7 separate regions of the Homo sapiens genome follow, and regions 2, 3, 4, 5, 6 and 7 are each linked to region 1. Evidence: promoter capture Hi-C in 16 types of primary human blood cells and fetal thymus (Javierre and others, 2016). All regions are on one chromosome and are shown on one strand. Each heading gives the region's core, a stretch centred on a gene start or on the middle of the fragment in contact. The rest is flanking DNA. Distances are from core to core; before and after follow the strand shown.

What was found. The method cuts DNA at HindIII sites, captures the fragments that hold promoters and counts their contacts. A CHiCAGO score of 5 or more calls a contact.
Region 2: a fragment that was not itself captured here is called in contact with the fragment with the promoter of PCDH10 in region 1 in 1 of 17 cell types (endothelial precursors); the score reaches 7.1 in endothelial precursors.
Region 3: a contact is called between a fragment that was not itself captured here and the fragment with the promoter of PCDH10 in region 1, in 1 of 17 cell types (M2 macrophages). The highest score is 5.7, in M2 macrophages.
Region 4: a fragment that was not itself captured here is called in contact with the fragment with the promoter of PCDH10 in region 1 in 3 of 17 cell types (endothelial precursors, M2 macrophages and M0 macrophages); the score reaches 7.9 in endothelial precursors.
Region 5: a fragment that was not itself captured here is called in contact with the fragment with the promoter of PCDH10 in region 1 in 4 of 17 cell types (M1 macrophages, endothelial precursors, M2 macrophages and 1 more); the score reaches 16.1 in M1 macrophages.
Region 6: a contact is called between a fragment that was not itself captured here and the fragment with the promoter of PCDH10 in region 1, in 6 of 17 cell types (endothelial precursors, M2 macrophages, M0 macrophages and 3 more). The highest score is 30.6, in endothelial precursors.
Region 7: a contact is called between a fragment that was not itself captured here and the fragment with the promoter of PCDH10 in region 1, in 1 of 17 cell types (endothelial precursors). The highest score is 7.7, in endothelial precursors.

What each region holds. Positions count from the first base shown.
Region 1 is chr4:133,147,398-133,150,885 of GRCh38, forward strand. PCDH10 (protocadherin 10) reads left to right here and starts at 1,897. Exons shown (of 5, transcript NM_032961.3): 1 at 1,897-3,488. The coding sequence starts at 2,744. It overlaps PCDH10-DT (PCDH10 divergent transcript), which reads right to left and starts at 1,719. Exons shown (of 9, transcript NR_125885.1): 1 at 1,632-1,719. RefSeq lists an enhancer at 1,641-1,700 and a silencer at 1,811-1,950. The HindIII fragment of the contact is 9,721 bases long and covers 1-3,488 here.
Region 2 is chr4:129,351,554-129,355,041 of GRCh38, forward strand. No RefSeq gene overlaps it. Among named protein-coding and RNA genes, the nearest start is that of C4orf33, 260 kb to the left of the region's middle. The HindIII fragment of the contact is 975 bases long and covers 1,378-2,352 here.
Region 3 is chr4:129,371,307-129,374,794 of GRCh38, forward strand. The region is part of intron 2 of LOC105377417 (a long non-coding RNA gene); the gene reads right to left. Among named protein-coding and RNA genes, the nearest start is that of C4orf33, 280 kb to the left of the region's middle. The HindIII fragment of the contact is 1,028 bases long and covers 1,387-2,414 here.
Region 4 is chr4:136,901,602-136,905,089 of GRCh38, forward strand. All of the region lies in intron 3 of LINC02511 (long intergenic non-protein coding RNA 2511), which reads right to left. Among named protein-coding and RNA genes, the nearest start is that of LINC02510, 290 kb to the right of the region's middle. The HindIII fragment of the contact is 2,104 bases long and covers 702-2,805 here.
Region 5 is chr4:136,879,656-136,883,143 of GRCh38, forward strand. The region is part of intron 3 of LINC02511 (long intergenic non-protein coding RNA 2511); the gene reads right to left. Among named protein-coding and RNA genes, the nearest start is that of LINC02510, 310 kb to the right of the region's middle. The HindIII fragment of the contact is 1,202 bases long and covers 1,347-2,548 here.
Region 6 is chr4:136,858,006-136,861,493 of GRCh38, forward strand. The region is part of intron 3 of LINC02511 (long intergenic non-protein coding RNA 2511); the gene reads right to left. Among named protein-coding and RNA genes, the nearest start is that of LINC02510, 330 kb to the right of the region's middle. The HindIII fragment of the contact is 3,099 bases long and covers 125-3,223 here.
Region 7 is chr4:136,739,568-136,743,055 of GRCh38, forward strand. No RefSeq gene overlaps it. Among named protein-coding and RNA genes, the nearest start is that of LINC02510, 450 kb to the right of the region's middle. The HindIII fragment of the contact is 775 bases long and covers 1,595-2,369 here.

The DNA.
Region 1 (3,488 bases), core at 647-3,146:
TCAGCCGCAGACGTGATGCTAAAATCATTTTAACTGCAGCGGTTTTCGCTTGGCTTTGGCCAGTCTTCAATTTACTGCAGCTGGAAAAGGATTAGCCATTTTTGCTGGAATCCTTTCCTTCTAAGCGCTCAAAGGCAGGACCCATCTTCATGAAAGAGCCAAGTGCGGGGGCCGGGGGGACCCGGCGTTGCGGGGAGTTGGGGCGCGGAAATCAGGGCAGTAGACGTGCATTCGCGGGACTCTCAGAAGCACGTCTCAGGCTACTATCACGCCCATGGACACTAGCCCTCCTTAACTCCTTGCCAGGAGGAAATGGCAACGTATCTCCAGGTCGGAAAACGACTCTACTTTTCCCGCAGGTTGTGGTGGTGTATTCTTGGGTCATTCATTACCAGAAAGCAGCAAAGGACCTTCCTATCTCTTTGCATAAAAAGGAGATTGAATAGGGGCTTCTTTCGTGAATAAACAACCAATTCCTTGCTAGTGGCCCATTAATTAAAAATATATATTTATAGATCTTTCCTTAGAGAACTGGCATTCTATCCACTCTCCAGCATTAAAGAGTTCGCGCTGTGTTTTAACTTCACAAGAACTAGCTATGTGGATGTGCCGCGTTGCCCCTGCGCCTCCGGAAGGGGCACTCACAGCTGGTCAAGCGCGTCCTTCGGAACTCGGGGAGGCTCCGTTGGGGCTTACACAGAGCTAAGCCCTGGGCCAGGGAGGATGGATGCAAGTACCGTGCATGTGCAAACGTGTTCGCAGATACCCGCAGCGGTGCACACTCGGGCCCCTCGTGTGCACGGGCCCTGCCCACCACCCCGCCCGCGTTCGCCGCCGCCCCACTGTCCTCATCCCGCGGGCTGACCCCAGGATTGGCAGAAATCAGTGGTCTAATCTAGCATGGTGGGTAAAGGGATCGATCTCCAATTGCCAAAAAAAAAATAGAAAATAGCCGGTGTTCCCAGCCGCTGCGTGGCACTTGGCCGCACAAGGCGCAGGGATATCAGAGGCGCTTTGCAGCGCTTGGCGGTGCTGTGTGCCGGATGCCCCAGAGCCCGGCGTTAGGATGGCGGGCTTGTAGGAAGCGGCTCAAATCAACTCCTCAGTCACTGATGAACGCGCTCACGGCTCGAAGCTAGGTCCTCGAGTGAGTTAATCTACTTGGTAAGTATTTTGTGAATATGTATTTTGGGAGGAAAGAAGCACGTCGAACGCGTCTGCCCGTCTGTAAGCGCTGTCATCCCCACATCCTTTAGCGTGAATTCCTCCGCTTTTTAGGAGTCACCTCCACCCCCTACTCCGTATGCTTCGCGCCTTTCCTCACGGCCCCGTCAGACCCCCTCACCTTTAGATTGACACATGCCATATAATACTCACTTTTAAAATGCCCTGCCAGTCTCTGCTAGGGTCCCTTAATTAGGTAACCCTTGCCAATTAGTGGGCCCTGCGCTACTTTTTCCCTTCTCGATGATTTATTTCCATGATGCGTATTAGGGAAAATACCTTAAAGGAAAAAGAATGTTAGCATCATTGGAAATCCCGCTCCTAGGAGAGGATATCGCAGCTGTTGCTATTATGTTTTCGCATTTGCTGATGCAAACAGGGGAACCTCTCTATTCCCTCCCCATTACCTGCGGCTGGGGACTGGGAACTTTCCGCGGCATTGTCCCCAGCCAGCGCCTCGGGACCTGCGGGGCTGTTCTCGCTCTCACACTCACACTCACCCCGGCCGCTCGGGCGAGAGTTCTGTCCCGCCCCGCCCGGCTGCCGCGTGACGTGTCTGTTTGGCGGCCAGTTTGGCCAATCATCGGCAGCTCGGTGGGTGGTGCTCCTGGGCGATTGGTTGGCAGAATGAGGGCGCTGCGCAAAAACGGAGAAGCCGAGCGCTCGGAGCTCAGAAACTGCCAGCCCAGACCACAGGCTCAGAGGCTGAAGCAGGAGGAAGGAAGGACTGGAAGGAAAAAGAGACAGGTTAGAGGGAAAGAGGCTTGGGAAGAAAACAGCAGAAAAGAAACTGCTCATTACACTTACAGAGAGGCAAGTAACGGTGGAGATGAGGACAGAGGGAACCAAGACTCTGAAAGACAAAAAATACAAATAGAGCGAAAGAGGAAAAAAATGTCAAGAAGAACATCCATCCGGAGAAATGAAGAGAATGAAAGTTTTAAGCTGCAGAGCCGTTCTGTGCTTTTCCGGCACAAAATTATATCGCTGATTTTAAGCCCTTTTGCATTTGCCAGCCGTTGACATTAAGAGGCATGTTTAACGGTGCCAACAGCATCTCCTTTTCCTTCTCCTCTTCCTCTTCTTCTTCTTCCTCCTCCTCCTCCTCTTTTTCCTCCTCCTCGTTCTCCTCCCATCAGCAAGAAGACAAACCGAGGACAGTCTTGAAATATCGAAATTTCCTCTTTGGGATTTGCCAGCGCCAAGACTGTCGGAATAAAGGACGCTGACTATTGTATTATTGTTATTTTATTAATTAGTCAGTGGAAAGATTACAGATGAGGAAAGGGGACGCCTGTCACCCTTCCTGTGCTAAGATTTAAAAAAAAATGAGGCTGGATTGCGGGAAGCTCTAAAATGAAGCAAAAGGAGTAAGATTTTTAAAGACAGAAAGCCACAGGAGCCCCCACGTAGCGCACTTTTATTTGTATTTTTTCAGATTTTTTTTTGTTTCGTGGTGGTGGGGGAGGTGATTGGGTGGCTGACTGGCTGCGGGAAGCTACTTCCTTTCCTTTTGGAGATGATTGTGCTATTATTGTTTGCCTTGCTCTGGATGGTGGAAGGAGTCTTTTCCCAGCTTCACTACACGGTACAGGAGGAGCAGGAACATGGCACTTTCGTGGGGAATATCGCTGAAGATCTGGGTCTGGACATTACAAAACTTTCGGCTCGCGGGTTTCAGACGGTGCCCAACTCAAGGACCCCTTACTTAGACCTCAACCTGGAGACAGGGGTGCTGTACGTGAACGAGAAAATAGACCGCGAACAAATCTGCAAACAGAGCCCCTCCTGTGTCCTGCACCTGGAGGTCTTTCTGGAGAACCCCCTGGAGCTGTTCCAGGTGGAGATCGAGGTGCTGGACATTAATGACAACCCCCCCTCTTTCCCGGAGCCAGACCTGACGGTGGAAATCTCTGAGAGCGCCACGCCAGGCACTCGCTTCCCCTTGGAGAGCGCATTCGACCCAGACGTGGGCACCAACTCCTTGCGCGACTACGAGATCACCCCCAACAGCTACTTCTCCCTGGACGTGCAGACCCAGGGGGATGGCAACCGATTCGCTGAGCTGGTGCTGGAGAAGCCACTGGACCGAGAGCAGCAAGCGGTGCACCGCTACGTGCTGACCGCGGTGGACGGAGGAGGTGGGGGAGGAGTAGGAGAAGGAGGGGGAGGTGGCGGGGGAGCAGGCCTGCCCCCCCAGCAGCAGCGCACCGGCACGGCCCTACTCACCATCCGAGTGCTGGACTCCAATGACAATGTGCCCG
Region 2 (3,488 bases), core at 615-3,114, 3.8 Mb before region 1:
GTGTGACCTACTGTCCTTGCTACACTCCTTAACTATGTCATTTGTCTGCCCATTTATGGGGCCGGCATCTGTTTGCATATCTTTCTTTTGCCACATAATGGAGTGGACAAGATGACCATTTCATCCCTTTCTTCTAACTACAGATTTCCAGGATCATGTATTGCATCTGCCTAACAAACTGTGCCTGTAATGCCATTTCTCAAGAATTCATACTGTGGATTTCTGTGGGGATGTTGACTACCTTATTTATTTTGTGAGACCAGGGCTTTTGTCTTTAAATGGTAACAGAATGATTTCTGTGTAGTTTTTATGAAGTTAGAAGTCAGTAGATAGAGCAACTTTCTGCTAATAGCCTCTTACATTGAATGCTTGCCGTTGACAGTATTTTTATGATAATTTTTGTCATCTCTTTAACAGTCTGTAGTATAGGAATCACAGTGTATATTTTAAAAATGAGGGTGCAGAGCCTTTGCATGGCTGAATCTAGGTGTTAACCCAGGCATCCTAAACCTAGCCCAGTTCTCTACCCACTGCAGAGGGAGAGGAGAGGTAAATGATTTTCCAAGGACAGCAATAAGAAATAGGAAATCAAAATAGAATTTATGATTGCTATATTTTAATCCAGCACTCTTGTTCCTTCCTCTAGCTTCTGTGATGTTAGTCTGAAGAGACTCTTACCTTTTTGTTTTGTTTATTATATGGCATCTGAAACAACACTCTGGACAGTCAGCAAAGGTTTGAGGTCTTATTCTGTTCTACAATTCAAACAATGAATTTTTTTTTTTTTTTTTTTTTTTTTTTTTTTTTTTTTGCCACAGAGGCCTTTGAAAATCTTACACGTGTGGACAAAGCCTTGAGCATCTAGAGAAATCTGCCCAAGTATGAGGAATATTTGAAAGAGCATTTCTGAATAGCAGTCTTTACCCTTGATTTCTATTATACTTCATCTGTGCATTTTGAAATGCATTCCTAGCTTGGTTTTATTAATCCTACCACCTCTGTGACAAGAAAAGGAGCTGTTGTTTATCTCCATTCTACAGATGTACAGACTGAGTGACGGGCTGTGCCTAGGGAAGCTCTTAGGCTTTCTGACTTGCAGTATCTAATAATGAGAGCTTGTTCCTCTTGTGCCCTTTTGCTCGATGTTATTTTCAATTTGCTTTCTTATGTGGAGAGGGCATTTTCATCTTTTATGATAGTTTCGAGTTTCATTTGCACCATCAAACCTGTAAATTCTTTTGTTCTTTAGAAAGCCTGGTCAGGGTGACATCTGTCTCTTTTTTTTGGGAGGGAATGATAATCTAATAGATAGGAAGATCTGCACGAAAATGAATCATTTTCTTTGCTTTAACTCTGCTTAGTTTATCATACGCTAAAAGCTTAGATTTAGATTTAAAAGGACTGGCTATAATACCTATGATAGTGCCATTTAAAAGTATAATACCATATGCAACTGACTTTTATTTCCTAGTGCTGCTCATCAATATATAAATATAGATTTACCAATCTTAGAAAATTAATTGGAAATCAGAAAACATATTGACTACGTTTTTTTTTTTTAAACTATGTCCAGGGAAACTAAGAATGACTTCATTCTGCATGTGCAAAGGTACAGGTAATTGGCATTACAGACTCATTCTTGCTGGACGTTGTGCTATGGAATTTTTGTCTATGTTGATTTTTTAAAAACAAAAGATAATCACAGCTTAGCCAGAGCTATGTGATGTGCTTGTTGACCCAGCTAGCAAAGAGTTTTGGACCTTGTTTTGCACCTTGTTCAATACATGCATGCTGAGTGGATAAATGAATGAATAAATGAATGAGTGAACGAGTACATAAACTGAATTAGACAAAGAAAGCTAATAGAAAGAAACTGGACATTAGAGGGCAATTCATGCAATACTTTGTAGCTCAATAGGGAGAGCCACCAAGACTATATTAATTGACCTAAGGAAAGAAAGGTAGGTGGGAAAGGCCACAAATTTAGAGGTGATGTGTAAGAGTAATTTTTCAATGAGGAAATATAATTTAGGGAAATAGCAAAGGCATTGAGCCTCACAGTCCAGGTACAACTCTCATAGATTCACTTATTTAATAAACAAGTATGTATTGACTGTCTATTCTGTGCCAGGTGTGGCGCTAGAGATTGGGGCTACCAAGGTCAGTCAAGTAGTAACTTCTGTCCTTAAGCTCAATTCATGTGGGAAAAACAGACTTGAAACCAAGTGGTACCAATGTAATATGGTTATTGATAGAGTAGAAATTTCTAAGATTCATCAAAATATGTAGAAAGGGTGTGATCAATTTTTCTTGTCAGAGTTAGAGAAAGATTCACAGAGAAAGGAACAGCAAAGCTTTTTGTTTTGTTTTTGTTTCATTTTCAAATGAAACAAAACCTGCCATGAGGATGCCTAATGGGCAATCCATGGATGACGTCTTTTACCCTCACACCTCTGCTATCCCTACTTCATAAATAAGACAATTGAGGCCCCCAGAAGCCAAATGAAGTGTGCAAGTTTACCCAGCGAATGTGCCCATCAAACCCAGTTCTGTATGCCTGCACAGCTCCTGCTCCTGCCATTATGTCACACAGGGTCTCCAGGAGAGAATAGGAATTCATCAGGCAGATAAGCAGCAGGAAGGGGAAAGTCTAGGCATTGGGAATGATGACTCAATGTGAGGGAGATGCTCAAGAGATGGAACATCAAGGGAATTATGAGCTACTCCTTCTATTAGAAGGTAGGATCGCTACTGTGTGTATTGTTGTCCTAGAAGCACTGTAGTTAATAAGGGGATTTAAATGTCCCTTCCAGCCTTGAAGTTTTATAATCATTAAGAAATTATCACTGATCTCAAGGGGCTTATTCTTCATTAATCTGCCAAATATTATTGACACCTACTATTTGCTGGGCACTATCCTAGGTACTGGTGATACATTAGTAAGCAACATAGTAAAAGCCCCTGCTCATATGGAGCGCTCATATAGTGAGAAATTAGATGCCAAACAAAAAAATGAGCAGTGCCAGACAGTGACCATCACTATGAAGCAGAAAAGCAAAGTAAGAGGAAAAGAACAATGGTGTGGCTGACATTTGAAGTCATGGGTGGCCTCTACAATATGTTAATATTTGAGCAGTATTATCTAATAGAGGAGCTCAGACATGTATCTAAGCAGTCACAGAATGAGATAGTATGTGATGAATCCTGGGGGAAAAACATTTAAAGAAAGAAGTGGCCATTTATTGACTACTGCTCACACGCTGGACAACACTTACAATATTCCTGAAAGGTGCCATCTGTCCTAGATGAAAAAACTGAGACCCAGAAAGGGTAAGTAACTTTTCTAATGGCACACAGACTGAATTCAAACTCAAATTTGTCTGAATCCATAGCCTGTGCTCTACCCACTCAAAGGACTGTGAGAGTCATTTTCCCCAGAGACAAAGGTGGGACACTTAGAGGAAGATTTCTTGATAGAGGCAGGGTGG
Region 3 (3,488 bases), core at 651-3,150, 3.8 Mb before region 1:
TAGAGCATGTGTATGACATTAAACCCATCCTCGCAGAACAGTGAGTACAGGCTTTATGTCAGGCACCGGGCGAGCACAATGAAAGACTGTAAATTACTACCCTCAGAAAGTCCTCAAACTGGTTGGGCAGTTGAGACTTGTGTAAATATATTTATCCTATGAGAAAGAATTTAAGGGAATTCAAATGAAAGAAAACCATGGGTATTCACAGAATGGAAAAAATTACTATGTGTGTGTTGGGGTAAGGTATGAGGTAGGTGATGTGTGTCAGAGAAAATTTCAAAGAAAAAGTGTGGGCTAGAATACAAAAAAGTCTAGGGGACAAAGATCGGAATTGATTGGGATGCCAAAATTCCATGCAGAAAAGATCTAAGGAGTGAAAGATCAAGCCAGATGACCAAGCACTTTCAAAGCTCTTACAGGTTTGGGGGTAAACTTATAAAAGGCCCTCATCGCCAGTTAAAAATCTTTGTAAAATAACATGTCAGGGAGACTCATCTGGTGTTTGTGTGTAGGAGAGGAGATGGGAGGTGAGGAGGTGAGGGGGCAGGTGGGATGAGAGAGATGAGGCTGGTCGTACTAAGGTGCTGCCCATATGGCTCAATCTTTCTGACACATGTACAGGACAGTGCACCGTGTAAAAAATAATGATTATTTACACTTACAGGATAAGAATATTCACAAAAGATTCACTGCTTTATAAAAGGCTTAAACATAAAATTCCTTTAAGAACAGTAAGCACTTCTGGTGAGCACAAAATTATTTTTCTTCAACTTTTGTAAAACTCTTTCAGAAACATAACTAGTGAGTGATGCAAAGCACATCTGTATCCAATTATGTTAGAGCACCAATATATTTCTGGTTTATAAAGAAGAGTATCCAGAACAGAAGCTCTTGCACTATTTCACTCAGATTTTAAGGCGTCCTCAGAGTCCTACTCTTTAGTAATCTCAAAAGTACATATTCTAAGCTGCATAGCGATAGACAAGACAGTATGAAAACTTTCTAAAAACTTACATATTTCTCCTTAAAAACTGCTGCAATGACTTCTTAACTTCCTTGAGATATAGGCGATTCACAAGCCCACTCAGCCATCTGTTTTGCTTGATTTCAGACCATTTCCATCTTTTCCAGAGACACAAAGGCAAATAATGTATGTGTATCTATGTGCATGTGCTTGCTTGAGTGAGGGTGTGTGCACGCACACGCGCGCACACACACACACACACACAAGTTTGGATTGTGTTCTCCATATCAAGTTTTTGAAACTGTTCTTTTCTTGGGGCAGTATATAACCAGTTATTTAGCAATAATGTTTGCCTAGAGTTATTTGTTTTGAAACACAGAATCTTTTTAAACCTTGTTTCTCTTTTAACAGCAAAAAGAAGCTTGAGTGATTATAGCAAACTTTCAAAGTCAATGCCACTAAGTGTCCTTTTTATGGTAGCAGAATTAGTTTTTATTTTCATACAGTATTCAGGAGGTATGAAAGCAGATGAACCTAGGAATGCCACAGCTGACAGTGATTCCACCCACAACAATTGAGAAGAGCACAAATAACCTCTCCCCTATAGGGACTATGTACGCCCTGATTCTTTTTGCTATGGTTTAAAGTCTAAAGGAGAATTGTCAAACAAATAATAATACTAGGTAACTTTATTTATTTATTTATTATTTATTTATTTATTTATTTTGAGACGGAGTCTCACTCTGTTGCCAGGCTGGAGTGCAGTGGCGTGATCTCGGCTCACTGCAACCTCCGCCTCCCAGGTTCAAGTGATTTTCCTGCCTCAGCCTCCTGAGTAGCTGGGACTACAGGTGCATGCCACCATGCCCAGCTAAGTTTTGTATATTTAGTAGAGACAGGGTTTCACCATGTTGGCCAGGATGGTCTCAATCTCTTGACCTCACGATCTGCCCGCCTGGGCCTCCCTAAGTGCTGGGACTACAGGCGTGAGCCACCACTCCTGGCCAATACTAGGTAATATTTATTGAACACTTATTAAGTGCTGAGTCCTGTTCTAAGTACTTTGTATGTATCAATTGGTTGAATCCTACAACTACCTGTATGATGTAGATACTATTGCTATGCCCTTTTACAGATGAGGAAATTGAAGCACAGAGGAATTGAACAACTTGCCCAAAGTTACAGAGCTGGGAGAGTTGTGGTTTGAACTCAGACAGTTTGACCCCAGACCCTGCCCTGGAACCAGTTGCTCTGAGAACCAATTGTTTACCTCCTTTTTATTCCTTCCAAAATTCCATGGCATTATGCTTTTTTGGAGGAGTAGAACTAGAAAGAAGGAAGCCATTGTAAGTGAGTAGAATGCTCATATATGCTATCCTGTTTTATTATTTAATCTTTATAACAACTCTTCAAGGTAGATATTATTCGTGTGGGTTACAGATGAAGAAGCTTGCCCTATAGTTTGTAAGTGGCACCAAGATTTGAACCTGAAACTAACAAATGACATTTGTTCAGTGTCAACTGTGTGCTGGATGTTTTATATCCATTTTCTCTTTGATCTTTACAATGATCTTGTAAGGAAGGTGTCTTTGGGAGTCATAAGAATGAGGTAAGTAAAGAAAGTCTTGAATGGGTTTCAGTCTGTGGAAAGCAGGCTAGCTCTAGATTGCTGTGCTATACTGCAAGAAGCATCTGTCCATGTGATGAGTAGGAAATAGATGTATCCATCACATTTCACTTACTTTCATTAGGAGATAGTGAGACTGTGAGAAAAAGAGCACTGGATGAGAGTCATATATTGGTGGGAAGCTGACTGAAATCAGGGAAAATACCTCACTGGGAAGTAAACATCATACATTTGGTTGAGATGTTTCTTGCTGTGCAGAAGATGATTCCCATTGACACATCTGGAGCTGAATGCTTGATCTTGAGGTAGAAACCATTGGTTTTCCAGTGAGTCCCTTCATACGTCTAGGTCAGCTTGTCCCTTGTTTGAGACAGGTGGGAGCTTCCCATGAACTGCTCCCACGATGTCTAGTTAGTATTCATGACTATATCATTTTCTAAGATTTTGGGTCATAGGTTTCTCCTATGTTTCAATTACCCTAGGACCCATAAGTGTACAGCTGTTAAAAAAAAAAAAGTTCCTGGTGTCAGTGACAGGTACAACTCTCATTTTCCAGATGACAATCTGAAACTTGAGAGGTTTAGGTCCAGGATTAGACAATAAATGTCAAAGCTAGGGTTGAAGTCAGATGTACTGACTACAAAGACACATATATTGGAATATAACAACATGCTGTCTTGCTTGTAGAATTGTTCACCTCTTTTGCTTGTATAATTTTTATTTCAGCAGTTTCTTCTGTTATTCAAACTATGTGAAGCTATTCCAGCAAGCTTATGTAATAGAGAATAGCATAAAATGTTTGCCAGTAATCTTTTGGTAATCTTAGTTTTCCATTTGACATTAAAAATCTGAGATTTCTCCTTTCCATGCTCATGCCACTGGTCCTTAAATTAC
Region 4 (3,488 bases), core at 504-3,003, 3.8 Mb after region 1:
ATACTCTTTATATTAATATGCTTTAAACCTAAAATTTTTATATTTTCATATATAACAGGAAAATTGGCAGAGGGGGCACATACTCATATCATGAGACTTACAGTTTCCAAATTCTGACTTAGAATTACTTGACATTCCTTCCCCTGTCTTCTCCCTTTCATTTTCTCTCTTTCTGTCCCAGCATTGGCAGGACAGTCTTTTCTGGGATCCACAAGGTTTTATCTCAGGGAGTGGCAGACGTAGAACTGGCAAGAATTGACTAACTGGGACGACTTTATTAAAATTCCCTAGTACAAATTGAGAGATCAGGGACAATATAACAACAAAGGAAGGGATGTTCCGTAATGTTGGACGGCAAAAATTGCCAGAGGTCCGGTTGTCCTGACATTAAGAATCTCAAAGTAAAGTTAATTGTCCTTTACTTCTCCTCAAAGTGTCCTGAAATTAGGAAACTGCTTCACTTTTCTTTGGAAAGTACCCTTTGCATCTGATCAAAGTTTCTCTTTTTTCCTAGACCAAACTAAAATTAGAACAAAAACTCAACAATTTTTCTAACACATATGTACCCAAAAACTTACACTGTCCTTTCAGGTTTCCTCAAGGTTGTTTTATTTAGACAAAGAAGGAGGAAAAGAAAGAAAAACACATATCCTGGCTGATGACCATCAGTATTTGAACATTAAAACTTTTTCTCTCAAAGAAGCTTTTATTAACTCAACCATCATTACACTTGGTTCTTTCTCTCTTCCACAAAAAAGTTAAATGTTTTGAAATACACTAATAAGTCATCTCTCCTTTTTATCCTTAAGTTATTACTATCAGTTTTCTGCCCCCATAATTTCTCTGAGCCGGAAATATCCAGAATCATTGAACAAATTCACCCTAAATTACCTGAATATTTTCTTCCCTTTCTCTTTGCATACAAGTGCCATTTTAGTAGCATTTGTTTCTTTTGCTCCCTTATTCCATCTTAAAGTATAATTTTACTTCTATAAAGCTACAAAACTATATTTCACACCACACAACTATCTTGCTTGCTAAATATATAGGTTGAATTGCCTATTTGACATGTACCCTTGAGTCATAGACATATCACACTCGATGTTTGATCATTTAAATGCATTATGTCTCAAACCTGCCTCTTTTCCAGTGATCCCTCTTTTGTTTTTACATTTTTTTGTAGAGATGAGGCCTCACTGTGTTACCCAGGCTTGTCTCAAACTATTGGCCTCAAATGATCTTGCTGCCTCAGTCTCCCAAAGTGCTGGGATTACTGGTGTGTGCCACCACTCCCAGCCTGATCTCTCTTTAAGTGAATGATATTAATGTTTACCCAGTTGCCTTACGTGGGAGACAAACGTCTGATTATAGCACTTCTCTGTTTGCAACTTTTCAAAGGCTTCCCTTTCCTTTAAGGAGAAAGTCTATACTCTGAAACCTGACTTACATGTCCCCTCATGGTTTGGTTCCTGTTTTCCTTTCCAACTTTGGCTCTCAAGCTAGTATAATTTTCCCTCCATAATCCAGTAACTATCACTGAAATTATTTCCATTCCTTAAGAGCCCCGTGTTTTGTTGTCATATCTAAATTTTAAAATATGCATTTCCCTGCGACTGTAAGATATATTTCCACTCTGCGTTATAAGTATGGTGCAGATGGTGGAAGACATGTCTGCTTACCGTTATATTCCCACCCTCAAGATGGTGCATGGCATTGAGTAGACAGTAGAAGATGGCACAATAACACTCAGCCTTGTTATCAGTTATTCTGTTCTGGATATTTTGACCCTATAAATGTTATTGTTGTGGTTGTTGTTATTATAACTTGTTTATTTGTTTGTTTTGAGGCAGACTGGTACGTCTTTTAATGTGCATTTATAGGGTACTAAAGCAATTTGAAGAAAAGCAAGTATACTATTTATCACAACCATGTTCTGAACAGTCTCTGAATTTTGATAAAAAGCTACAGCCATTTATTTTTAGGGACAGAGTCCCAGCCAGAAGCCCTTATTTTCCTCACTGTATGAGAGTCACACTTGCAGTGAGAGCTATGGGGAAGGCCAGTTAGCCATGGGTGTCACCACATGGGAAAAACTGATCTTTTAAATATGAGTGAAGTATATAAGTTATTTATAACTAATTCATGATATACCTGGGCAGAAAAGTTGTGTTTTCAATGGTTTTATTAACGTTGCAAACAATTTATCATTTTTCTTTTTTTCTTTTTTTTTTTTTGACTGGGAGTTTTGCTCTTGTCACCCAGGTGGGAGGGCAATCGCGCGATCTTGGCTCACTGTAACCTCCACCACCTGGGTTTAAGTGATTCTCCTGCCTCAGCCTCCTGGGTAGTGGGGATTACAGGCGCCTGCCACCATGCCCAGCTAATTTTTGTAGTTTTAGTAGAGACGGGGTTTCTCCATGTTGGTCAGGCTGGTCTCAAATTCCCGACCTCAGGTGATCCGCCCACGTTGGCCTCCCAAAGTGTTGGGATTACAGGTGTGAGGCACCATGCCCAGCCAATTTATCATTTTTCTCTCCATTTGCCATACTTTTTTCTTGTTTTTGTTTATCAATTTAGTTCTAAGACTATGGACACTTAGAGTCAGAACAAATAAAATAACATTATTTTAACTTTCATATCTCTACCTTTAAATTGGTGTTACTAGTGATTTGAATTTGTTAATTTGCTTTACTTTGTAATATTCATTACTTACTGGATGCTTCTGAATTTTAACAAAAAGTACTCTATATTTACAAAGGTAATAACCGTCCTACACAACATTTTCATTAGTTCAGGCTGTTGGGAAGCTTGAAGACTTCAGTGTAAGCAACATATGCAATATGTTCTAATTTTTCCACATGAAGTAGTAGTATAGACTTACAGAAGTTACTCAGACACCGTGAAAATGATATATGTTCTACAAATGCATTAATACTACTACTGATTCTAGAAAATAGCCCCAGTGTTCATCTATAGTATTCTACAGCTGGAATTAAAAGAAATAATAATAATAATAAGATATGTGAAGATAATTTAACACGATGTGTGCAATTCAATTAAAACCCAAAACATTTCTTCAAGCTTTTGCAGATTTATTTCTATTACTCTTAGATTTTAAAACTAAATTCCAATAGCTAGATGATTCTGTTAGCACCACCGAGCCTATCAACGTGACAAAATATCTTAAAGAGATACTAACACGCATGCATCATTAGCCATTAAAAATTCTCCCTCAGTTATTGGAACAGATGGTAGGAATAGCACATCTTGGAAACTACTTGGCTAATAGGAATATAAACCATCCAGAATAAATAAAACTACAAATTAATGTACTTTCCTTCAAATCTTGCTGAAAATATGTTCAAAAAATGTAAAAGAAAAGTAGAGATTGAAAAATAAAAATCAAGTGTATATTTTTATCACAAGACAAAACAAGAAACCGAATGTGATCCAGGAAATATATAGAAGATTGATTGCAGAAATGAGGG
Region 5 (3,488 bases), core at 698-3,197, 3.7 Mb after region 1:
AATGAAGACTGTGGTATTAGTGGAAAGAGGATCACATAGATCAATGAAACAGGATAGAGAGAACTGGAATAAAAACCAACAAATATGTGCCTAGCGGAGGTGAACAAAAATGGAAAGGCAATTCAGTGGGAGAGGTATAGTCTTTTCAACGAACGGTGTTAAAGCATTTGAAGATTCACAGGCAAAAAAACAAAAAAAACAAAAAAAAACCTTGAACCTAAATATCACACATTATTACAAAACTCGACTAAAATGAATTATGAATTCAAATTGAAAACCTGAAATTGTAAAATGTTTACAAAAATGCATAGGAGAAACTCTTTGGGACTTAGAGATAGGTGAAAAGGTCTTAGACTTGTCTAAGTCTGTAAAAGAAAAATTTGATAATTAGATTTCACAAGAATTAAAAACTTTTTCTCTGTGAATGACCCTGTGGAGAGGGTAAAAATGAGCTACGGACAGAAGAAAACAAAACAGAAACACCTCGATAGCCACATATCCAAAATAAGAATTGTATTTAGAATATGTAAAGATATCTAGTCAACAAAAACAACAAAATGATTCAATGAGAAAACAGGCAAAAGATAAAACAGATATTTTAACTGAAGGGGGTATAGAGATAGCAGATAAACACATGAAAATATATGAACATTGTTACTCATCAGAAAAATGCAAATTAAAATGATACTAATATTTACTTCACACCTATTAAAATGGTTGAAATATAAAATAGTGATTGCATCAGATGCTATCTAGGATGTGGAAGGCCTAGAGCTGTGATACACTGTTGGTTGGAGTGTAAAGTAAAGACAGCCATTCCCAAAATTATATGTAACAGTTAAAAAATGTCCACATACCATATGACAAATCAATTGTATTCTTGATCATTCTTCCAAGAGAAATGAAAACATGCTCACCTGAAAATCTGTACACCAATGTTCACTGCAGCTTTAAGTTTAATACTCCAAATACAGAAACAACAAATATGTCATTCAATGGATAAATACGTTAAATACACTGTAGTCCATCCATACTACGGAATATTAGTCTCAAAAAGGAAAATTTGAATGGATTTTAAGGAAACTATTCTGAGCGAAAAAATAGTCTCCAAAGGTTGTATATGATTGCATTTATATAACAATCTTAAAATTATAGAGATAGAGAAGAGATTAGTGATTGTCAAGTGTTAGAGGCAGAGTAAGGGAGGAGGATAGCTGTCACTATAAAAGAGTAACAAGCAGAAGCCCTGTGATAGAACTATCCTGTGTCTTGACTGTGGTGATGGTCACACAAATGTAAGATAAAATGTTTTAGCACTAAATATACACACTGGTGAATTCTGAATAAGCTTTAGTGACTGTAGCCATGCCAATTTCCTGCTTGTGATATTACTGTGTACTATAGTTATACAAGATGTCACAATGGGGAAAACTGGGTGAACTGGGTGATGGTTATACAGAATTTCTCTAACTTACTTCTTCAAACTACATGTTAATTATAATTACCTAAAATAAAAAGTAAAATAGTATCTTTAACAATAATTAGAACTTAGCGAGCATAAACATAACAGCTGTTTACCACACAAGTGCAGTGCTAAGCTCTTAAAAATATCATAATTTTTTATTGTTGCAAGAGCTGTATGACACAGGCACATGCTATCAAAATCTAATTTACAAATAAAAACATTGGTGTTTTGAAAGATAATAAAATTTGCCTAAGAGGATATAGCTTAAGAGTAAGAAAGGAGGAATGTAAACTCATGTTAAGAGGACAGAGAGGTCCTTGACTATAACACCTTTCTGTTTTTTTTAAAAAAGCAAGTTTATTATCTTATATGTCCTTTATATTTATACTTGGCATAATTGTGGCACTAACTCTATAAATATTTATAAGTAAGTGAATGCAGTCATTAAACCATCAAATTTTATTCTCTGAAAGCATGGACGTAATGGTGTAAGGGGAAGAATAAACTCTCAATTCCGTCAAGTCATGTAATTTGGAAAACTAAATGCAAATCTCAGCTTCAGTTTCATGATTTCCTGACTAGAGAAATGGATGCTTCATATATCTTTTAAATTCTATCTCTCAAATATCAGATGTCTCAAGCAAGTTTTTGGCATCACAGTTAATTTATGATTGACATTTTTAATGAGTGTCTGAAATGCCAATATTTTGTGTTGTTGATAAAACGATCCATATGTTTTACATTTCACACACTCAGGCAGCTGAATTGACATTCTGTTGTGAAATGTTAAGTTCCTGATATGATTTCACATCCAGGCAGTAGGCTAACCCATTTCCATAAGGAACTTAGAATATGTTCAAGATTTCATTCCTGTTTTCATCTGAGACTTGGCGTTTTTAAGTACCTAGAATGTGCAAAGACAAATGCTGCAAATAGGTTGATCTTTATCAAGAATTGCAAATGCTATGTAGAAGAATTAACATTACTTGATAGTACGGGAGACTGAGCCAGTAATATCATATTGGAGAGCTTAGGAGATCTTCAGTCACTGGCACTTTAATAGGGACTTGTTGCTTGAGTGTAAGCTTTCCAGGCAAGAACTGTCAGCTTCAGGAGGGCAGGAAGTCGGTGTGTTTCCTTCATCAAACTATTTCGAACATTTAAAACAGTGCTTGGCATATAGTGAGAGGCACTTTATCAACAAAGCAGTTGAAAAATAATCTGGCAGATTTAATAGGCAAGCACATCTAAATTTTTTTATCTAATTATCATATGCCAATCCCTATTGCTGTGTTTATTTGAACTGTATCCCAATTAGCTTGGAATTAATATTCATACATTGTCTTCTCTCATTCTTAAACTTTGACTCAAATGCCTGAATATAGTATTTCAGATTTTTTTTCAACTTCCTTTTCAAACTCTCTTAATAATACCATAACTCCATTTCCTAGAATTTTCTAATTTATCTTTTGCTTTAAACATAGCAGAAGATAAAAAAATAATTTTTCTCAAGATGTCTTTTAAGATTGAGAGCACAAAAAATCACCTGTGCTTCTCCCATTCAAAATTTAATTCTATATTTTTCCTTCTTTAGAATAGCACAGATTAACACATTTCCCCCTTAGTAATCAACTTAAATTTGAAAAAAGATAATTTGCCAAAATTTAACACCGGAACATATTTTTTTTAAAACACACACAAAAAATAATTTTTTAAAATAGAAACACTATTTTCAAATTTGAAAAGGTATCTCTTACAGGAAACTCTTCCTGTCATATAGGAAATTAGCACTAATTTCCTATATGACAGGTCTTTCTGTCCTGCAAATGGACCAGACACAAATCAATAATGTCCATTAGTGGCATTGTCTTCCAAGTTTTGCTATACATGATCCATCGCTTTTGTCACACTTTTTGTTTTTCTATATCAGGATGGAAATGTCATTGCAAATAATTCATTGTCTCACTTTCCGATATTAAAAGCTGAATCAAAGGATTTCATTCATTCATACTCATTTGCCTAA
Region 6 (3,488 bases), core at 424-2,923, 3.7 Mb after region 1:
GTGAGGCTGCTGTACTTTCATTGGAGTCCAATTTATTGTACTTTGGTGAAAAAGGTTTCCCCAGCCAGAAAGCCTAAGTGAAAGTTGTGCTAACTTTGTTTGTTCTCCTTTTCTCAAAATCACAAGCTTTCTTTAAAAAAATTTGTCTCATGTCTTTTTCTGTAATTTAATTATTCTTTAAAGTGAGAAAAGCAATTTGGTCCTAGGTAACATAACATATATGAGATAAATTTTTAATTTTCCTATTTTAAATAAACATGTCTATATTTACCACTTTCAAAATAAACATATAAGTTAAAGATTCACAATAATTTTGAAAAATAATTCTTTTTAGTAACTATCTTAAGTATTATTTATTTGCATAAAAATAAATTGGATAAATATTTTAATCAAATTACATTAATGCCTCTAGGTAGAGAGCATGTGATTTGGTTAGATTTAATCTTTAAAATGTCAGCATCCAAATATGGCATCAATTCTTACTAAATATTACGAATAATATAAACTAAATATATTTATATATATTAAATACTCAAATAGTACTCCTAACCACAAAATTAACCCAATGATGACTTCTTTTCCAAAACATTGCAATGTGTCAATATCTTTAAATTGCTTAAAAATTAATGAATGAATCTAATTGAGTATACTTCTACCAACAATATTTTTACATGTGATAGGTAAAACATTTGTCATTTTGAGCTTAGGCCAACTGGCAAGTCATTTTTATATCATATTGGCTGTTTCTAGGCATTTTTTTTTACTATTTTAACCAAGAGTGAGTCAAACTATATTGCTCAATTTATACAGTAGTAATGTGAAAATCATTATTACACATGGAAAAACTCACGAACAAGGATAATTATTTTCTAAAGTCACAGGTAGATACAGCAATATTAACAATAACTATGACTTGTAGACTAACATTTAGTATGTAAACAGAGTACTCTATTTTTAAAAAATATAATTAGAGGGCAGGCACTGCATTGCTCAGTATATTCCCAAAGCTAAGTGGCAGTTGATAAGAGTTGCATTAAAGTAAAGGTCAAATAATGATGACAAGTTTCCTCCCATTTCACTTTGCCACAGTTTGACATAAGCTGAGATTTATGCAATGTCACTAACCATCAATCAATCACCCATGCAATAACAAATAAAGAGATGAAATGGCTAAGTAAATATGTCTTTTTAAAAATACAGGTAAAGAAAAGAAATAACATCAGCTACTAGGCTCTACAAAGAGAAGAAGCAACTCAAATACTGTTTTATTTGAAGCCCTTGTATTTAAGGAAACAAAGTATGGCCTATTTTTCTTTCTCTTGGATGATACATAATTATTTTAGTCCCTAGAATAGTTTTGTTAAAATACTGCAGTATCAGTTAATTTTGTTTCTTGAGAAGACCTGAAAGAGGTTTTTGGTTTGTTTGTTTGTTTGTTTGTTTTTTATCCTTATGTAGTTCTTATCTTATTGGTAGGCTTTGAATAGCTATCCTATAAATATTATTGGTTTCATAACATTTTAGGTACTTATTTTTAATTCAATATCTTTGTTATTGAAGCAAGTCAATTTAGATGAGTTGAAGAAAATGGTAATAGTAATGATTTTAAAATTTGCTAATGGTTTTCAGCATACAGCGTACACCCAAAACACTTTTAAAAACATATGGCTTAAAATCTCTACGGGGAAAATGTTTTAATGTCTTTATTCTAAGTGAATACAGTTAAACTTAACAGAAGTAATCATTCTGGCACAAAGACAGAGATGTAGGTTGGCATGAGGACATGTGAAAAGATTAGCAGGAGATGAAAGTAGTGGAGAGACTGAAAAACACTATAACAATAGTGCATCAAATCATACCCAGTAAGAGCTACACCAACCTTTAAGGAGGAGGAATTGCAAGTTAATGTCAAAAACATAGTGTAATTTTTGTATGTATGTAAAAATTTGTATGTATGTAAAAATTTTATTTACATGTAAATAAAAATGCATAAAATGTCACAGCATAGTATATATTATTTTCTATAGTATAGATAATTTTACAAATTGTTTTTAACTTTAAAATATTTCATGTTAAAATGTATCTACTTTGTGTATTTGAAAAGACAGGTACATATGCTTGATGGATCTGTGTGCTAATTACAATCTAGTACCAGGGGCAGCATAGGAGAATACTTTGACTTTGTTTTTTTTTTAATAGAAAGTATTTTTTTAAATTACACTTTAAGTTCTAGGGTACATGTACACAACGAGCAGTTTTGTTACATATGTATACATGTGCCATGTTGGTGTGAATATCTTAACTTTTGACTGGATCCTTCTACATTTAGATACTAGAGGAAGCCCAGAGTAGGTCCCTAGAACATGCAGATGCTGATTTGTGAGATGCTGCCTTATAAGGCCCATAAACACATACTCACACCAAAATTGTTAAAAAGAGAACAGATGCTTTAAAACAACCATAACAAGAAATCAGTTTCACATTTTTAATCATTTTAATGGCACTTAAAATGTAGTGTAATGACACAAGTGATATGTAATGATACAGGCCTATACTTCACTATATTCTTTTTTTTAAATTTTCTCAAGCCCCTGTGTTTTTAAGACCCTTTTGTCACATATATTTCTAAGAAAATAATAGTTTTATTTCAACCACATAATTGGATATTCAAAAAGAAATGTGATCATTTCTACACTCAGAGTTTTATGTCCGGGTATTACACAGAAAAATGATAACAACATGTCTTGCCTTGAGAAAAAAAATGCAGAAAGCAAATCATTTTTATTTTGATGTTATTCTTGGCAAGCAATATAAAAGTATATGTGTATTTGTATTCAAACGTGAAATATACCAGAAAGAACAAAATCTGATTTCAGAAGTCTTTGATTGCTGGTCAAAAAGAATTTTTTTTAAAGGAATGTAACTAGCAGCTATTAATCACTTTCTCAAAATGTAGTGAGATTGTTCCTAGTTTTGTGCGGTTTTTTTGCATTTTCTCACAAATGTTTATCAAAATCACCCTTTAAAGAACTTTTCAGTTGTATGCCTTAATGAAAATAGCTTCCTTTTCTTATCTATTATTTTAAAAATAAAAAGCAACAAAAAACTAAATAAATTTTTCTATAATAATCTTTCTATAATAGCTCACAACTGTATTAAATAAATCAAAATAGCTTGTCAAGGGCTATCGTATTTCACTTGTTACTCTCTATAAACCTTGGAAAGCTTTAAGAGAGAAAACACTGCATTGCATTTATGAGCTCTTTACTAAACATCTGTTCCCTAATATTTTATATCAGCCACTGAATTAGCTTCTTGAACTGCAAAAAATGGTAAAAAGTCATGGTTTCTTTACCCAAGGAATTGGCAGTACTTTCACAGTCAACTGAGAGGACAGAAACACGAGTCATTACTGTAAAAGAGAAGGAATGCAACATTGGTGTGAATGAAACACAATACAGGAGCATAGTAGAACAGGTTTTAAAACA
Region 7 (3,488 bases), core at 732-3,231, 3.6 Mb after region 1:
TATTCAGGCTTCTACAGAGAGACAGAGCTTATAGTATATGGATATGGATATATGTATGTATATGAGAAGATTTATGTATGTATGTATATGAGAAGGTATAATTCAGTCTGAGTGTGAAGGCCTGAGAACCTGGAGTGCCAATGTCCAAGGACAGGAAAAGATTCATGCCCCAGTTCAAACAGAAGCAAATTTGTCCTTCCTCTATCTTTTTTTTTTTTTTTTTGAAACAGAGTCTCACTCTGTCCCCCAGGGCTGGAATGAAATGGTGCAGTCTTGGCTTTCTTCCCTCATTCAAGTGATTCTTGTGCCTCAGCCTCCCGAATAGCTGGGACTACAGGCGCACACCACCACGCTTGGCTAGTTTTTGTATTTTTAGTAGAGATGGGGTTTCACTATGTTGGCCAGGCTGTTCTCAAACTCCTGACCTCGTGATCTGCCCACTTCGGCCTCCCAAAGTGCTGGGATTACAGGTGTGAGCCACTGCACCTAGCCTTCCTCTGCCTTTTTATTGCACCAACCTAACATTCAGACCCTCAAGGGATTGGATGATGCCCCCTTGCATTGTGGTGGGAGGATCTGCTTTACTTAGTCCAACATAAACCCATCTCTTCCAGAAACAGCCTTACAAACATGCTCAGAAATAATGTTTAAGCAGCTGTTTCGGCATATCCTGGACCACTGAAGTAGATACATAAAGTTAACCATCACACTAGTTAAGAATCTGATGTAACCATTATCTATTTATATGATAAATTCAAAGCTTATTCCTACAACCAATAGTGTAGAGACTTTTAAAAATGTACTTGTTTTGTTGTTTTATCAGATTTCTGGCAATTGCATTGTGTTGTATGTTACTGTCGACTTTCGGGTTATTTAGAGGGCTGCAACTTGTCCAGAGAAAGATGAAAATAGCAATGAAGTCAGAAATTTGTAGTGTCACTATTTTATACTAACAAGGAGTGTATTGTCTGGGTAAATACAAATTGGAAAAGAAACAATTCTCTTTGTTGAAAATACGGGAAGAGACATCCATCCCCTCCCTTTCTTAGGGCATTTACTTTAGAAAACTTGCAGATGGAAATTTTTGTTTGTGTCTTTAAAAATGTGTGTAAATCTTTTTAAATGTCAAATAAGCCTCTTGCCTGGTGAAAGGCTCGGGAATGTCTTACTCTATGACCTGGGGACCATCTCATTGAAATGTCTTCATCATCAAAGAACATAGTGCCCATCTCCCAATTTCTGTGGGTGGGTGGAAACCTAGCTTCAGAAGGTATTTAGCTTAAAATTGCAAAACTATCTTATGTTATAAAGATATGATAATTTATTTTTCCTTTGGATAATACACAGAACATCATTCCAAGTATCCAGTGAATTTAGGATGAACTATGTGTAACAAATAGTGCTGTCAAGTCCTATCTAGCACTTGAAGACTAGTTATTATTTATCTTGAGAACATGTACATAATGGATTGTATCTGCTTGGCTATATAAAATAATGAGATTTATTTCTGTTTTGCGATATCTTAGCACACCTACAATCTGGTTTAATGCTTATTCAATAATACAACTGTGTTCTTTCTTTTATGTTGTAGAGAAGCTTCCCAGGTTGGGAGGAGATTTTGTTTTTAATTATTTATCACCAACATATAGTGTCATATTTTCATTTGCCTCAACTAATCATGAATACCTGAAAGGCAAAGTCCATATTTTGCTTATATTTTTTATACTCATGCCTCGTACTCAATAGATATTCAATTAAGATAGGTTTAATCCTGTTGTGTTCAGGAGATATATCAAATGTATGTATGATGAGAAACATTTGAAATACTGTAGAATAGAAAAGAGCTTCTAGACCTTCAAAAACAGCTATATGTTATCTCCAATCTACTCTCATACCAGCTTTTCTTTCTCTCCTCACATATACCATTTTCCTCAAGAATTTCTGAAATATTTATTTGTAATTGCTAAAATCTTCATTTTTCATGGCTCTGTACATTTATATGTATGCCTGCTTCCCTTCCCCCTATCTCAGGAATGCCTCTCCACAAACAGTTCCTGGGCCTGACACACTGATTGCTGTGTTTGTATCTAGAGAAGAGAAAGGATGACTAAGGGAAGTGAGTAAGGGGTAGATTTACTTTTGAAATGTACTTGCGTATCTTTTAAATTTTGTTCATGTATGCATTCACTACTTAAAAACAGATATGATAATTATATTTTGATAGGAAAAAATACAAAGTCACTTCCTTTAGGAAATGTCCTATTACCCTTCGTTGGCTAGGCTATTGGCCATGTTACCTAGAGAATAGGCTTGTTTCTCCCTGCACACAGAAGCCAATACCATGGCATGGGGTCTTTTAAGAAAAGAAAAGCTTTAAAGGAAAACCTGCCAGCAAGGAGAGGGGAGTGGGCTGAAATCTGTCTCCCTAACTTTGGGTCTGGGGAAAGTTGATGATTTAGAGGGCAAGGGAAAGGATTTAGGAATTTTGACTTGGCACAGTCTGGTTCAAGAGCTTCAAATTTGGCCGTTTAAAGTATGTAGAGGTAAATTTTAGCTCCACATCTTCTAGGTTAAGGGTTTCCTTGTGACTGAAAGAGTTCTGGTGTTCAGGTTCTGGTCATATTCCAGTCTTCTTGGTTCCAAGGGAAGGATTCCTTGATTCCAGGTGTTTTTAGAGGTCAAAGGTTTTTCTATTGCACTTGCCCAGGCAACAGGACTTGCAGTTTTTGTCTCTGTTACCTTTTACTGGGAAGTGTGGGGATTCTCAGTTCTTCTCTAACTTGAAAGAAAGAATTCAGCCAAGAGATGTATAGTTTATTGAAGGGAGATAAAGTACATTTTTAGAGTGGCAAACAGCTCTGGCTGGGCTGATCCTGCTGAAAAACAGCTCGTGGCTGTTTCTGCTGGAAAAATGATAGTAGCAGGGTTCGTTTAAAGAGACAGTACATTCTGAAAGATAAAACAGAGTCTAATGCTTGAAAGAATGAGTCAGCAGAAGCTAGTGCTGAAGGATTCTTTTTATGAGAATCTTACATGATTATTCATAAAGGGGCATGAGGGGGTGTTCCTTGCAAGCATGTTTTGGGAGGTCCCTTTGGGCATGTATGCTCTGTGGTCCTATATGCTAGTGCAAGTAAACATGTCACGTATCTTATTAGTATTTAAAATCTCCTGGACAGAGATTTTTAATACTAGTAAATAGTATTCATTTAGTCAATACTGTTTTTACTATTATAACGAGAAAAATGTTACTCTAGGGTCCATGCTCATCAGCAGGGAAAATCCCGACCATGGTTATTTCTGGATACAGCCTAAGTATCCTTTAGGGCTGGAGGAGCCCACTCACAAGGCCAGAAGTAGCCAAAGTAGCCATTGTCATTTTTCCTGTCTACAAGTGGGCAGCATCTTTAGGACTTCTTTTCCCAGGGGCTCCCCTGTTGCTTATTTTGTTACCAAAATACCAGGGGTTTGGTCTAGGTCCTGCTGTT